2 separate regions of the Homo sapiens genome follow, and region 2 is linked to region 1. The links are contacts of gene promoters, found by promoter capture Hi-C in blood cells and fetal thymus (Javierre and others, 2016). All regions are on one chromosome and are shown on one strand. Each heading gives the region's core, a stretch centred on a gene start or on the middle of the fragment in contact. The rest is flanking DNA. Distances are from core to core; before and after follow the strand shown.

Region 1 (6,351 bases), core at 1,108-3,607:
ATGGTACATTTCCTTCGGTTATTAATTTATACAGTGTACCTCTTTCAATTGCCTATGAAAGACTTACCAAGGCTAATCATGTTAGGTACTGATCTAAGTGTTCTACAGGCATTTACTAATTTAAACGTCACAACAATCTTACGATACAGTTAATATTATTACTACCATTTTACAAATGAGGAAACTGAAGCCCCAAAAGGTTAAGAAATTAGCTTGAGCTGCACTCTTAGCAATTCTGCCTAAACCCCAACGTAGGGCACAGTACTATGAGAGCACAAAGGAAGGTGTGTCCAATTCTATCTGAAGAACTCAATAAGACCTTATAGTGGTAACACTTGAGTTAGGTTAAAAATAAATGTGCAGACAGAGGCCTGTATGGTGTGTGTATATGGCTTACACAAAGTGCAAATTAATTTGTAAATCTGGAGAACAATAAATTCTGTAGGGCTGTGATAGGGTGCATAAGTGTGGCACAGGGTTTGGTCAGGAACAGATTTTAAAGGGCCATGAAATCATTTGGATTTTATTCCATGGGCTTAAAGAAGTTACTAAAGGTTCTTAAGTATGTAGATGACTCAGTCGGATTTTCATATTAGAAAAATTAAATCTGATAGCATACAAGGAGAAGAGAGTCAGACAGACCACACAGAAGGCTCCTGCAATAGTCCAGAAAAGATGGTGTATATATGTCACAAAGTTCCTGAATATCAACTTCTTACCTTTACCTTCATGGTTTTGACGTATCTAACACGTCTTACCTTTTTCTTCATGGCTGTATTTGGTAGCACCCACCTGCAGATATAAACCAAAAAACAGTTTCCATGATCCAATTCCCTTAGAAATTGAAATTAATGAAGTATAAATAAACATGGAGGTACAAAAGAGCATGTTTAGTACAACGGCTGAGTACAGCTGTGTGTGTGGGACCTCAGATGAATAGAGGTCCCATTTTCCTAAATTATAAAACTGTGTGTATACTCTCTATCTCCTAATTAGAAGTTCAAGAGAGAACTCCTAGGAAGATTTATTTAGGAATACAAATGAGCCATTAAAATTCAAGATTCAATTTTTCATCATCTTAATCAAAGCAACACAGCTGCTTTAATCAAACAATATCTTCTATTTCTAAAAAAACAGAATATATTGATATCCTCTACTTGAGGACTGAGTATTGAATATCTTCTATGTATAAAAAACATTCAGCCTCCTAATTTTAAAATCTGGAAGTATCTTTTTAGTCCTTCAGCTGTCCTTCCAAGCCCTATTTCACTCATCACAGACACAAAGTAGATGTAAGTCTCAAATTCAGGTACAAATTGGCACAGAAAACACCCTCAAGCTCTGACCTGGAAATGCAAATCTTCTTTCTAGTCTTTCCATCCCCAACCTGGTGACAGCAAATCTCCTTTACTGATAATTCAAAGCAACTCATAACTGCTTTAATTAGAACACTCCCCCAGCACCACCACCAGGAATATCAGCCCCTTCCCAAGGGTTGTTTCTGATCAGTTAGCACCAATTCGCTTTCCAGTTTATCCTGTCGTCCAAAGCATAATCCCAATCAACATTACTGGTAAATCAAAGCAATTTATCATGGTGCGGGGTGGGGAGAAGTGTTCTAATTCACAATACTCTCTTCAATTTGAACACCCCCACTTCCAGGTTTCACAAATACCCTTCACCCACCCAAGCGATCCTTCCGGTTCCCCTAGTGGTGGATCCATTCTCGGCCCCAGATTTTCTTTCTCCGTCGTTTTCTCAGAGTCAGATTCTTCCATTGCGCAACAAGTCCTTTCCAGTCCCTTCTAAATCTTCAGTACTCTTCAGGGTTTGTTGTTGTTGTTTGTTTGTTTTCTTTTTCACCCCTCAACTGCCTATTCTCATCGCCTATGGCCCTCAGGCCTGCTCTATTCTTGCCTCCGCCTTTGTCCACTGGGGGGCCGCTTTCCCCACGGTTACCTTTATCTCTCGAACCTGGCCTCAAGGCACGGCCGAGCTGGCTAGCTTTAAGGCCAAGTGATTCCGTGGTACAAAGTAAGAGTTGGAGAATGACAGGAAAAGAGAGGTGGGTTAGGGGTTCGTCCCGAGTTTGGGCCTCAGGCCCCCAAGGTCTGGAAACCCAAAGGTAACTTCACCCGCAAAGAGGTGAGGACCGCGAAGGCGGAGGTGGCAGAAAGAGCTGACCCATGCCGTAGGCACTAAGCGGAGAACGCCTCAGCTGGCTCGTGGCTTCCGAGCCCGGCCGCTCGGAGAGTCAGCCGGCGGGGGCAGTAGTTACGACCTAACCACCCGCCCTTCAGGAACCCAGGTATCTCACCGCAGCCACCCAACTGCAGGCCAGGATCACGTGGGCATCTGCCTTACCCCGGAGTCTGTCACGTGACTGCCGCTACCAAAGGGACGGGTGGGCTGGGAAGAATACCATAGAGACAGCTCCAGGAAAGCCAGAGTGCCGTCTGTCATCATCACGTGGCCTTGGCTCAGGCTCCGCCCCTCGGGCGGGGTAGGGCGCTGGGAGCCTTCAGCCTCTCTAATGTGGGTGGGCCTGGCCCCACCCATCCGCTATGGAGAATTAAAGGAGCCGGTTGCAATTTCAGTGCCTCTGAGCTTCTCTTTTTTACTGCTGGTTACCGGTAATGGTTTTTGACTGGGAAGACCGAGCATTGTCTTTGCCTTCCTGCTTTTTATTGTTAATTCTTGCAATCGAGTTTGTAATTAAATGATTAATACATCCAAAGCGCTTAGAACTGTGTCTTCCACATAGCAAATACTGTATAAATTATCGTTATTGCTGAAACCAGGGATTCATCAGGAATTTTAACACACACATTCATCTTCCCACTTGTTTAAAACAGGAAGTGAAGGAAGTACCATAGTAAGAAGTCAATAAATAAAGTCTAGGGCTGGGAGTGGTGGGTCATGCCTTTAATCCCAGCACTTTGGGAGGCTGGGGAGGGAGGATCACTTGAGGCCAGGAGTTCAAGACCAACCTGGCCAACATAGCGAGACCCCATCTGTAAATAAGTGAAGTCTAGAATTGAGAACAGAAAGACTACTGGTAGGGATATGCACACCAGGAAAAATGCCCAGAGGGGTTCAAAGATGTTCCTTCTGGAGAATGGGGTAGGGGATAGGACGTGATATGTCAGGGGACTATTATTTTTTATCTGAAGCCCTTCTGTGCTATATATATTTCTATAATGTATAAATGATATATAATAATAAGATTAATATGACATTTAATTATATTTAATATAATCAACTAATACTTAAATAATATGTTATAAATATGTTATTTTAAATAAATGTGTAGTTTAATTATATTATTTATAATTAATATATGATATACTACATGTATTATTTACACGTAAGTGTGTACATATATTACTTTGATAAGAAAAAAAGGGAAGGAAGGAAGAGAAACTGCAGGAAACAGAGTACTATTATTGAAACTGCCTTTGCAAAAACTGTAACTGAGGAAATTATGACAGTGAAAGAGATCAGACCTCACCGACTCCATCTTACATCTAACCTTTAAGGTGTCCTTGTTCATTCCTGGGCGTAGGCCGAACTAACCTTGGGAAGGAATTTAGTTTATAGTTTAACTCTGATACAAAATTGATAATAGCCCTTTCTCCCTCCCGCTGCCCCCCACTAAAAAAAAACAAAAAAACAAAAAAACCTTCTTACCTGGGAACCAGTCGGCCTTTGCAGGACTAACAAATTAGCCACAAGATTACAAGATTAGAAATTACAATTCAGGGGCCATGCAGCCTCCAGCTGCAAGAGTCTGAACCTCCCCAAATTGCTCCCAGGAATAACATCACTGTTTTAAAACCTAAGATCACTGTTTGATATGTTTTGCAGACCCTGCATTCAGATGCACCAGCTTATGATACAGGAGCGGGGCAGGAAAGTGCTGGGCAGAGAAAGGCGGGTCCGTGGCTAGGGCTCCACCCTGGGGCCTGTGCCCATGGACCTAGGTGAGGATAGGCACTCCTGCCTTCCCACCCAAATGTTATATTCACCCCTAGAGGTTGCCATGGGGTCGGAGCCCCACAGCCTGCCCCTCTGCATGCTCCCCCTAGAGGTTGTGAAGCAGTGAGCCACTCCCGCTGTGGCATGCCCTGCAAGGGGGATAGGGGAACTTCCCTCGTTTCACTTACAGCACCCAGACCAGTAATCTGGCCCAGCCAGTTCTGCGATCCCACCCAGGAACAGAAGATAGCAAGAAAAACTCACTTAGAGCCCCCTATGATTCCATATCCAACTTGACCAGTCAACACTCCCCACTTCCCAAGCCCCTACCCACCAAATTATTGTTAAAAATTTCAATCCCCCGAAACTGATTTGAGTAATAAAACTGCAGTCTCACCCACAGCTGGCTCTGCATGAATTACTCTTTCTCCATTGCAATTCCCCTGTCTTGATAAATCAGCTCTGTCTAGGCAGCAGGCAAGGTGAACCCGTTGGGCAGTTACACTGTCTGCTCCCACACTTTCCACTTGAGGTCCTGTGTGATTCCTTTTCTCCACAACTGCCTTGCCTCAAGAAAAAAGTTATTCTACTCTGATTAGTGATCCTTCGCTCTATCACTAGCTAATCTTTTGTCTCCTTCCAACCAACTACCCCCAAACAAGCTTCCATTCTGGCTTTCCTTGTCTGATGAAAGATCCTGAGTCCCAAACCAGGAAGTCACCTTAGATTCACTGCCCTCCATACGTGTCAATGAGACCAGGTCATGATCAGTCTATTTTCTACTACCTGCCTGCTCTTATTCTTACTGCCACTCTTTTTGTTCCAGCTATCATAATCTCTGGCCTAGATATCCACAATAGCCTACTAAGTGATTTTCCCACAGTGGCAGCTCCAAAGGGGTTGGGAGTGAGTGAGTTGATCTTCATTAGTCATCTCATCCCCCAAAACATTTGACGTAATTAATATGTGCTTGCTTTCTAAAGGCAGCTTTCAAATATGTCTTCCAACACCTACTGCCCCCGGGCTTCACCAGCCAAATTGGCCCCTTAAACCACTCTTTTATAAAAATGTACTGTCTCGGCCAGGTGCAGTGGCTTACACCTGTAATCCCAGCACTTTGGGAGGCCAAAGTGGGCGAATCACCTGAGGTCAGGAGTTCGATACCAGCCTGGCCAACATAGTGAAACCTCATCTGTACTAAAACTACAAAAATTAGCCAGGTGTGGTGGCACGCGCCTATAATCCCAGCTACTCGGGAGGCTGAGGCAGGAGAATTGCTTGAACTCAGGAGGCGGAGGTTGCAGTGAGCCAAGATCGCACCACTGCACTCCAACCTGGGCGACAAAGCAAGCAAAAAAAAAATACTGTCTCCCTGTTGCTGCTGGTATCCTTTTCCCCCTCCTTCAAACCATCCATCCTCTCTAAAAGCTGCTCAAGTGATCCTTTATTTTAATTAATTAATTAACTAGTTTTTGTTGAGACTGGGTCTCACTTTGTTGCCAGACTCAAACTCCTGGCCTCAAGGGATCTGCCCACCTTGGCCTCCCAAGGTGCTGGGATTACAGGTGCGATCAAATTTCTTTTTATCGTCGTTGTAGTTGTTGTTGTTCTTGTTGTTTTTGAGACAGGGTTTTGCTCTCTGACCCAAGCTGGAGTACAGTGGCACAATCATGGCTCACTGCAACCTCAACTTGAGTAATCTTTTAAACCACAAATCGGAGGAGACTACTTCTCTACTTTAAAATCCTCCCATAACTTAAGGAAAAAGTGTGTCAATACAAGGACCTTCAAGATCTGGCCTATAGCAACTCACGAGCTATATTTCTCTACCCACATTCACTACCTCACAAGCTTCATAAGGAACTGCTGATAGTTGCCTCAAAGTGCCAAGAGGCAAGAAGTAAGAAGAGGAAGAAACAGATAAAGAAGGGGAGGGGAGGGATGAAGAAGAAAAGGGGGAGAAGTGGGGAGATGGGAAAGAGGGAAGGAATAGAGGGGTAAGGAGAAGAGGAAAAAGGAGGAAGAGGGGTAGAAGGAAGGGAATGGAAGAAAGGTAGTGGAAAAGGATTGAGAAACTAAATCAAATAAGCATAGATTCCAAATAATGGTGAATAGGGCCAATGTGCAGTGCATTCCTATTGTAAATCAAAAATAAAATACCAAGGTTCCTCAACCATTTGAATGTGCTTTCTCCTCGGCCAGGGCACTCTTTAAAAATGTATCCTGAGTGACTTTCTGGCCATGACAGGAAGTAGGGGTCAAACATGCCTCATTATATTTCTCCAGCTTTAACATCAACACAGACCTTTAAATCTGATAAGAAGCATTTACATTCTATTCTTTCTGAACCTGCAGGCTTCCTGCATGATTAAA
Region 2 (6,351 bases), core at 2,571-5,070, 300 kb after region 1:
ATGTAGTCTTCAAACTCTGAGATTCTTTCCACTGTTTGATCTAGTCTGCTATTAATACTTATGATCGCACTATGACATTCTTCCAATGTGTTTTTCAGCTCTATCAGGTCAGTTACATTCTTCTCTCTCGGCTATCTTGTCCGTCAGCTCCTGCTATGTTTTATCATGATTTTTAGCTTCTATGTATTGAGTTACAATGTAGTCCTTTAGCTCAGTGAACTTTGTTCCTATTCATATTCTGATTTCTACTTCTGTCATTTCAGCCATCTCAGCTTCAGCCTGGTCTGAACCCTTGCTGGAGAGGTGGTGCAGTCATTTGGAGGAAATAGGGCACTCTGGCTTTTTGAACTTTTGGCATTCTTGCACTAATTCTTTGTCATTTTTGTGGGCTTATCTACCTTCAGTCCATGAGGTTGCTGACCTTTGGATGTGAAATAGCAAAGATGGCAGCCTGCCCCCTGCTCTGGAAGCTCTGTCCCAGGGAAGTACAGAACTGTTGCCAGCCCAAATGCACCTGTAGGAGGTGGTTGGAGATGCTGTTTGGGAGGTCTCACCCAGTCATGAGGAATGGCATAGGATACCTGCTTAAAGAAGCAGTCTGGCCATGCTTGTATAGAGCAGTTGTGCTGTTCCAGAATACTGCTTCCACCCTCTTTTGGTTTGAACTCTCCCAAGGCTGCTGGCTGAAACAGCTGAGTTGCCCAAACAACAAAGATGGCATTCTACCCCTTACTCCAGGAAACTCTTTCCCGGGGAGGATTCCAATCTCTATCAGTCAGAGAACACCAGTGGGAGTGGCTGGAAGTCCAGATTGCAGGTCCTGCCCAGTAAGGAGGAATGGATCAGAGACCTGATGAAAGAAGCAGTTTGGCCATGTTTTGGTAGAGCAGCTGTGCTGTGCTTAGGGATCCCTTCTGCTCCTGGTTGGACTCTCCAAAGCCTGCAGGCTGGAATGGCTGAGTTACCCAAACAACAAAGATGGTGGCCCGCCCCTCCCCCTGGGAACTCTGTCCCAGGTATGGGTGACACTGGCTGGAATTCCAAGCCAGTGGGTCTTATCCTGGGAGGCTTAGTGGAAGTGGGGCCCACAGACCATTGCTACTCAGCCCCCTTCCTAGAGATATGTGCGGAGGTTCAACCCCCTGCCTTGCCTGAGTTGCAGTCACTTTTGCCAGGAAGCCCGGAGCTGGAGTATGTAAAGCTCCTGGGCCTCCATGCAAGCCTGAGTGGCTACTCTGCCGAGATTTCACACTGCGTGTCAGCCTGAAGGCCCTGGTGGGTTGTCTTCATAAGAGGGTCTCCCAACCAAAGGGTTGTAAAGATCAGTGGCAGAAGCATGGTTTCCTGGGGTCAATCATTCACTCACTGCTTCCCTGGGTTGGGGAGGTTCTCCTGGCTCTGTGTCACTCCCAGGTGGGCTCTTGTCCTGTCTTGCTCTTCTCCTTTCTCTGTGGGTCGAGTTGTTTCCTTGATTAGTCCCAATGTGAGTACCTGGTTTTTTCAGTTGAAGGTGCTATATTTACTTGCCCCTTTTGTTTCTCTCCGTGAGAGGCATGCACCTTAGCTGCTTCTAGTCAGCCATCTTGTCCCAAATCCTTATTTTTTTAAATCACTTTGTAGATGTTATAGTGTCTTCTAGATTTTACTCTTCCTATTGAGATGTCATCTAAGAGGTTAAATGTAATTCTTTTGTAGATAATTACATATTCTTTGCTGCTTAGAACATATCTTTGTTTTTGGGTTTCTGTAGTTTTATTATAATAAGTCTAGGTGTGAATTTAGTTTTATATATTCTATGTGGGGTTTACTAGACTTCCTGAATCTGAGGATTTATTTCTTTCATAATTTCTGAAATATTCTCAGCCTTTATATTTTTAATATCACCTATTTCTTATTCTTTCTGTTATCTATTTCTGACATTACAATTTGATGAGTGTACAACCTGCATACCATATTCTCCATATCCTTTAATTTCTCTTTCATATTTTTAATTTCTTTATTTCTCTGAATTTCATTCTTGTTAACTTATTCAAACACATATTCCTGTTTACTTCATCTCATTGTAGACATGATCACAATTATATCACAGGCTAAATGTGTTAGGTAGTAGAGAGTGGTAAGTAGAACCCACTCAATCATTATATTCATCATCTTAATCCTTCACAAGTCATCAACCCAAATTGACAGAGATAAACAACTATTTTATAGTATAAATAAGCTTCTTGTGATAATCAGGATATAATTATGCTAAAATATTCACCATATAGCTAAAATTCAATTTAACAAGGTATCCTGTATTTTATCAGGCAAGTTTAATGAGAAGTCAATTTCTACCAAAGAAGCTGAGACAGATATCAAAGATATCTTTGTGATGATGTAAATTAACTTGTTCTTCAGTGCTAACTCTAGTAAACATATAATGTAAATCTAAAGTTAGGACATATGAACTGCCAAAGATTTTTATGCTATCTCTGAATGTGAGAGACATACTAATAAAATTTCCAGGTAATTTTCTACCTTGTGTATGGACAGGAGGAAGAATATTGGATATCAGAATTTTTCTAAATATTCAGGTCATAATTTATATATCACTGGGTATAGGACAATTCCAGTTAGTAAGAAGTTACATAAAGCATTTTTCTCTCTAAACAAAGGATGATTCTCTTTTGGAGACTCATTCTTGGTGTTACAGATGCTTTTTCCCCCCTCTCGTGTGTGTGTGTGTGTGTGTGTGTGTGTGTGTGTGTGTGTGTCCGTGTGTGTGCCTGTGTGTCTGTGTGTGTGTTAAGAACACTAAACATGAGATTATCCCCTTGACACATTTTAAGTGCACAATAGAGTATTGTTAACTATAGGCACAATGTCGTACAGCAGATGTTAAGAATGTATTCATCTTGCGTAACTGATACTATATAACTGGTGGACAGCAACTCCCCATTTTAAGGATACTCACTCTGTTGTCTATTTTTTAAATTTTAGATGTTTTAAGATTACACAATTGTGGCAAATCAGATGCAATTATTATAACCCAAGTGACCCAATGGAGACCCCAAATTACAGTTAGTGGAAAATAAAAATGCTGTTCACATTCATTAGTCTTAATCTCAGAAAGTTAGAATAGTGTTTAGAAATTATAATTTCTTATCTGAAATTATCATATATACAAGTGAGATGGTATTGAAATGGTGCTCATCAGCCAGAGTCATAATCAATTTGAATTATATGTAAAGTGAAACATAATCTTTTTTGGTTTGACTAGCTAAGCACAATTCCAGACAGAGAGGATTCAAAATTATTCAGTTGGCGTTTAACTCTCATTGGGGAAGCCTAAACTGACATCTTTAACTTGATGTAAATATTACCATTTAGGCAATTAATCTCTTGAGAAAATGCTAAATCTCAGCAAAATTTTGAGATATAACAGTTGTCAGATACTTCTGTAACTAAGCTTATTTTAATATTATTGCCAATACTTTGAATTGATTTAAATCATTAATTTGAATTAGTTTGTATCACTCTTCACTGTCTTAGGCTGGATATCTACTAAAGCCATAATTGAAGATTCTTTAAAAACACATGTTGCAAATTAGGACTACATATTGCATAGAAACAAGTAGATTAAATTTATTTGTCAATTTTATGTGCAAAATAAACATACCAAAGTACTTTGGGAATGTACAACTTGACTGTGCTTTTATAGCACTGACTCTAACTCCCTGCCCCAAGTAATTCTTTTATTTGCATGGTTGATAATTTGATCTGATCTTACTATTTCTAGATCTAGTTCTCAACTTTCTTTTCTGTTCCACTGTTCTATATGTCTTTCTTTATATCAGTATCACACTGTCTTGATTGTAGCTTTATAATAAGTCTTGAAATCTGGTAGTTTAAGGCTTTCAAGTTTGTTCTTTTTTTCAAAATTATTTTGTCAGTTAGAGATCCATATAATTTACAAACAAATTTTAGCAGTCTTGTAAACTTCAACAAAATAACCTGCTAATATTTTCACCTGGGTTGTGTTGACAGTGTAGATAAATTTGGGAATAAATGATCTTAACAACATTGAGCCTTCCAGTGAATGTAGTATATTTCTCTACCTACTTAGTTTTTCTTTTATATATCTCACTAATGTTTTATAATTTCTGTGCATAAAATTTAGAATCATCTTGTCAATAGCTACAAAAAAAGCTTCCTAGCAAGAAAACCATATGACTCTCAAATCAATTTAGGTCTTCTTTAATTAGGTCTCTAAACAATGTTGTTTTGTTCTCAGAGTACATATTTTATCAAACTTACCCCAAAGTATTTCTGGTTTTGTGATGCTGTTGTAAATGGTATTTTTATATTATTAACTTTCAGATAGTTGCTGGTATATAGAAATACAATTGAGTTATGCATATTGACCTTGTATTCTGCAACCCTGCTAAACTAATTTTTAGTTCTAGTATCTTTTTTAAATACATACACAATCATGTTGTCTAAAATATGTTAAAAGTAGAAAAATAGTTTTTCTATTTAAAAGAAATCTGTATTCCCTTTTTTACTTGACTTATTACATTAGTTAGCATCTATGGTAAAAATTCAAATGGGAGTTTTGAGAAAAGATTTCCTTGGCTTACTCTCAATCTTGAGGGGAAGCACTGTCTGATGGTACTTATAGGTATTTTGTAGTTGCCCTTTACCAGGAAGAAGTTTGTTCTATTCCTAGTTTGTCGAGAGGTTTTATCATGAACATTTGGATTTTGTATAATGTTGTTTTCTGCAGTAAATGAGATGATCATATAGACTGTACTTTTTAGACTGTTAATATGATGAATGCTACTGATCAGTTTTCAAATATTAAATGAACCTTGCATTCCTGGGATAAACCCCATGTGGTTATAACCTACAATATTATTAGGCCAGGTGCAGTGGCTCATGCCTGTAATCCCAGCACTTTGGGAGGCCAAGGAAGGAAGATTGTTTGAGCCAAGGAGTTCAAGACGAGTCTGGGCAACAAAGTGAAACCCCATCTTACCAAAAATTTTAAAGCAATTAGCTGGGCATGGTGATACATGTCTGTAGTCTTAGCTGTTCAGAAGGTGGAGGCAGGAGGATCACTTGACCCCAGAAGGTTGAGGCTGCAGTGAGCTGTGCTCATGCCACTGCATTCCAGCCTGGGTGACAAAGCAAGACCTTGTCTCAAATAAATAAAATAAACATAACATATGATTTGTGTGTGTATGTGTATATATATAATATATATAGCATATATATATATACACATGCACACATCTATATATGATTTGCTAAAATATTAGTAAAGATTTTTGTATCTATATTCACAATATATATTGATGTCTTCTTGTAAACTTCGTTTTGTTTTATTTTTGTATCAGAGTAGTGCTCACTTTACAGAATGGTAGGAAAGTGTTTCCTCTTGTTCTTTTATTGGAGTAGATTGTGGAAAATTGGTGTTATTACTTCCTTAAATGTTTGGTAGAATTCTGGGCCTGGAGTGTCCTTTCTAGGAAAGTTATTACTAATATGTAGGACTATAAAAACTATCTATTTCTTCACAAGAAAGAGCATCAACTGCCTACCTACACTCGGCAGTAAGAATGAGCCTCTACCACTGGATATTAATAGAGGTCAAGTGGAGAATCTGGAATTCCACTCCCATATGGAAGAAATGAGGAAGCACCCCTCTTTTCCTGACAGCATGGGAGAAAAAATATTTAAATAAGGTCCATAGCGTCATAGCACCCAAAATGCCCAGGTTTCAATAAAAAATCATTTACAATACCTGGAACCAAGAAAATCTCCACTTAAATTAGAAAAGACAGGGCCATCTGAAATGACAAGAAAAAATCTTCCCATAACAGCTACAAGAACACTGGTAAAATATGTCAAACAAAATTTTCAAAACTGGAAATTAGCTAAATATTTGTAATAACTGAGAAGTGTTTATTCAAGAAAAATGTTGAAACTCAACAAGAAATGTGAACTTCATGGAGTTTTAACTTGCCCTTATTATATCCCCCACTTTTTACTCTCATGGTATCCTTGGAAAGTAATAGCCCCAGTGCTACAGTACCTGTGAAAACCAGCAACCTAGCAGCAAATGTGGGTTGGGAGTGGAGGATGCATTTGGAGATCCCCAAAAGCTTCACCCAGAGAATTACTACAATTTGACTTGTCTGGAAACTCACTGAAAAGCTTCATGCTCAAGGCTTATATTTATTTGACAAAACTCAGAGATCACTCTGAAAAACTCTATTGCCAAGGCATTTGTCAAAAACATCAGAGGCGAGTGTTTAACATAGCAGCTGCCTTAGAAGAAGTTAGGGCTAATGAGAGGTTACAAAAAAA

What was found. The method cuts DNA at HindIII sites, captures the fragments that hold promoters and counts their contacts. A CHiCAGO score of 5 or more calls a contact.
Region 2: a contact is called between a fragment that was not itself captured here and the fragment with the promoter of RRAGB in region 1, in 1 of 17 cell types (activated CD4 T cells). The highest score is 5.8, in activated CD4 T cells.

Annotation. Positions count from the first base shown.
Region 1 is chrX:55,713,755-55,720,105 of GRCh38, reverse strand. It overlaps RRAGB (Ras related GTP binding B), which reads right to left and starts at 2,357. Exons shown (of 10, transcript NM_006064.5): 1 at 1,687-2,357; 2 at 759-792. The coding sequence starts at 1,778. RefSeq lists enhancers at 1,739-1,868, 2,029-2,228. The HindIII fragment of the contact is 6,209 bases long and covers 1-4,642 here.
Region 2 is chrX:55,411,356-55,417,706 of GRCh38, reverse strand. No RefSeq gene overlaps it. Among named protein-coding and RNA genes, the nearest start is that of MIR4536-2, 37 kb to the left of the region's middle. The HindIII fragment of the contact is 740 bases long and covers 3,451-4,190 here.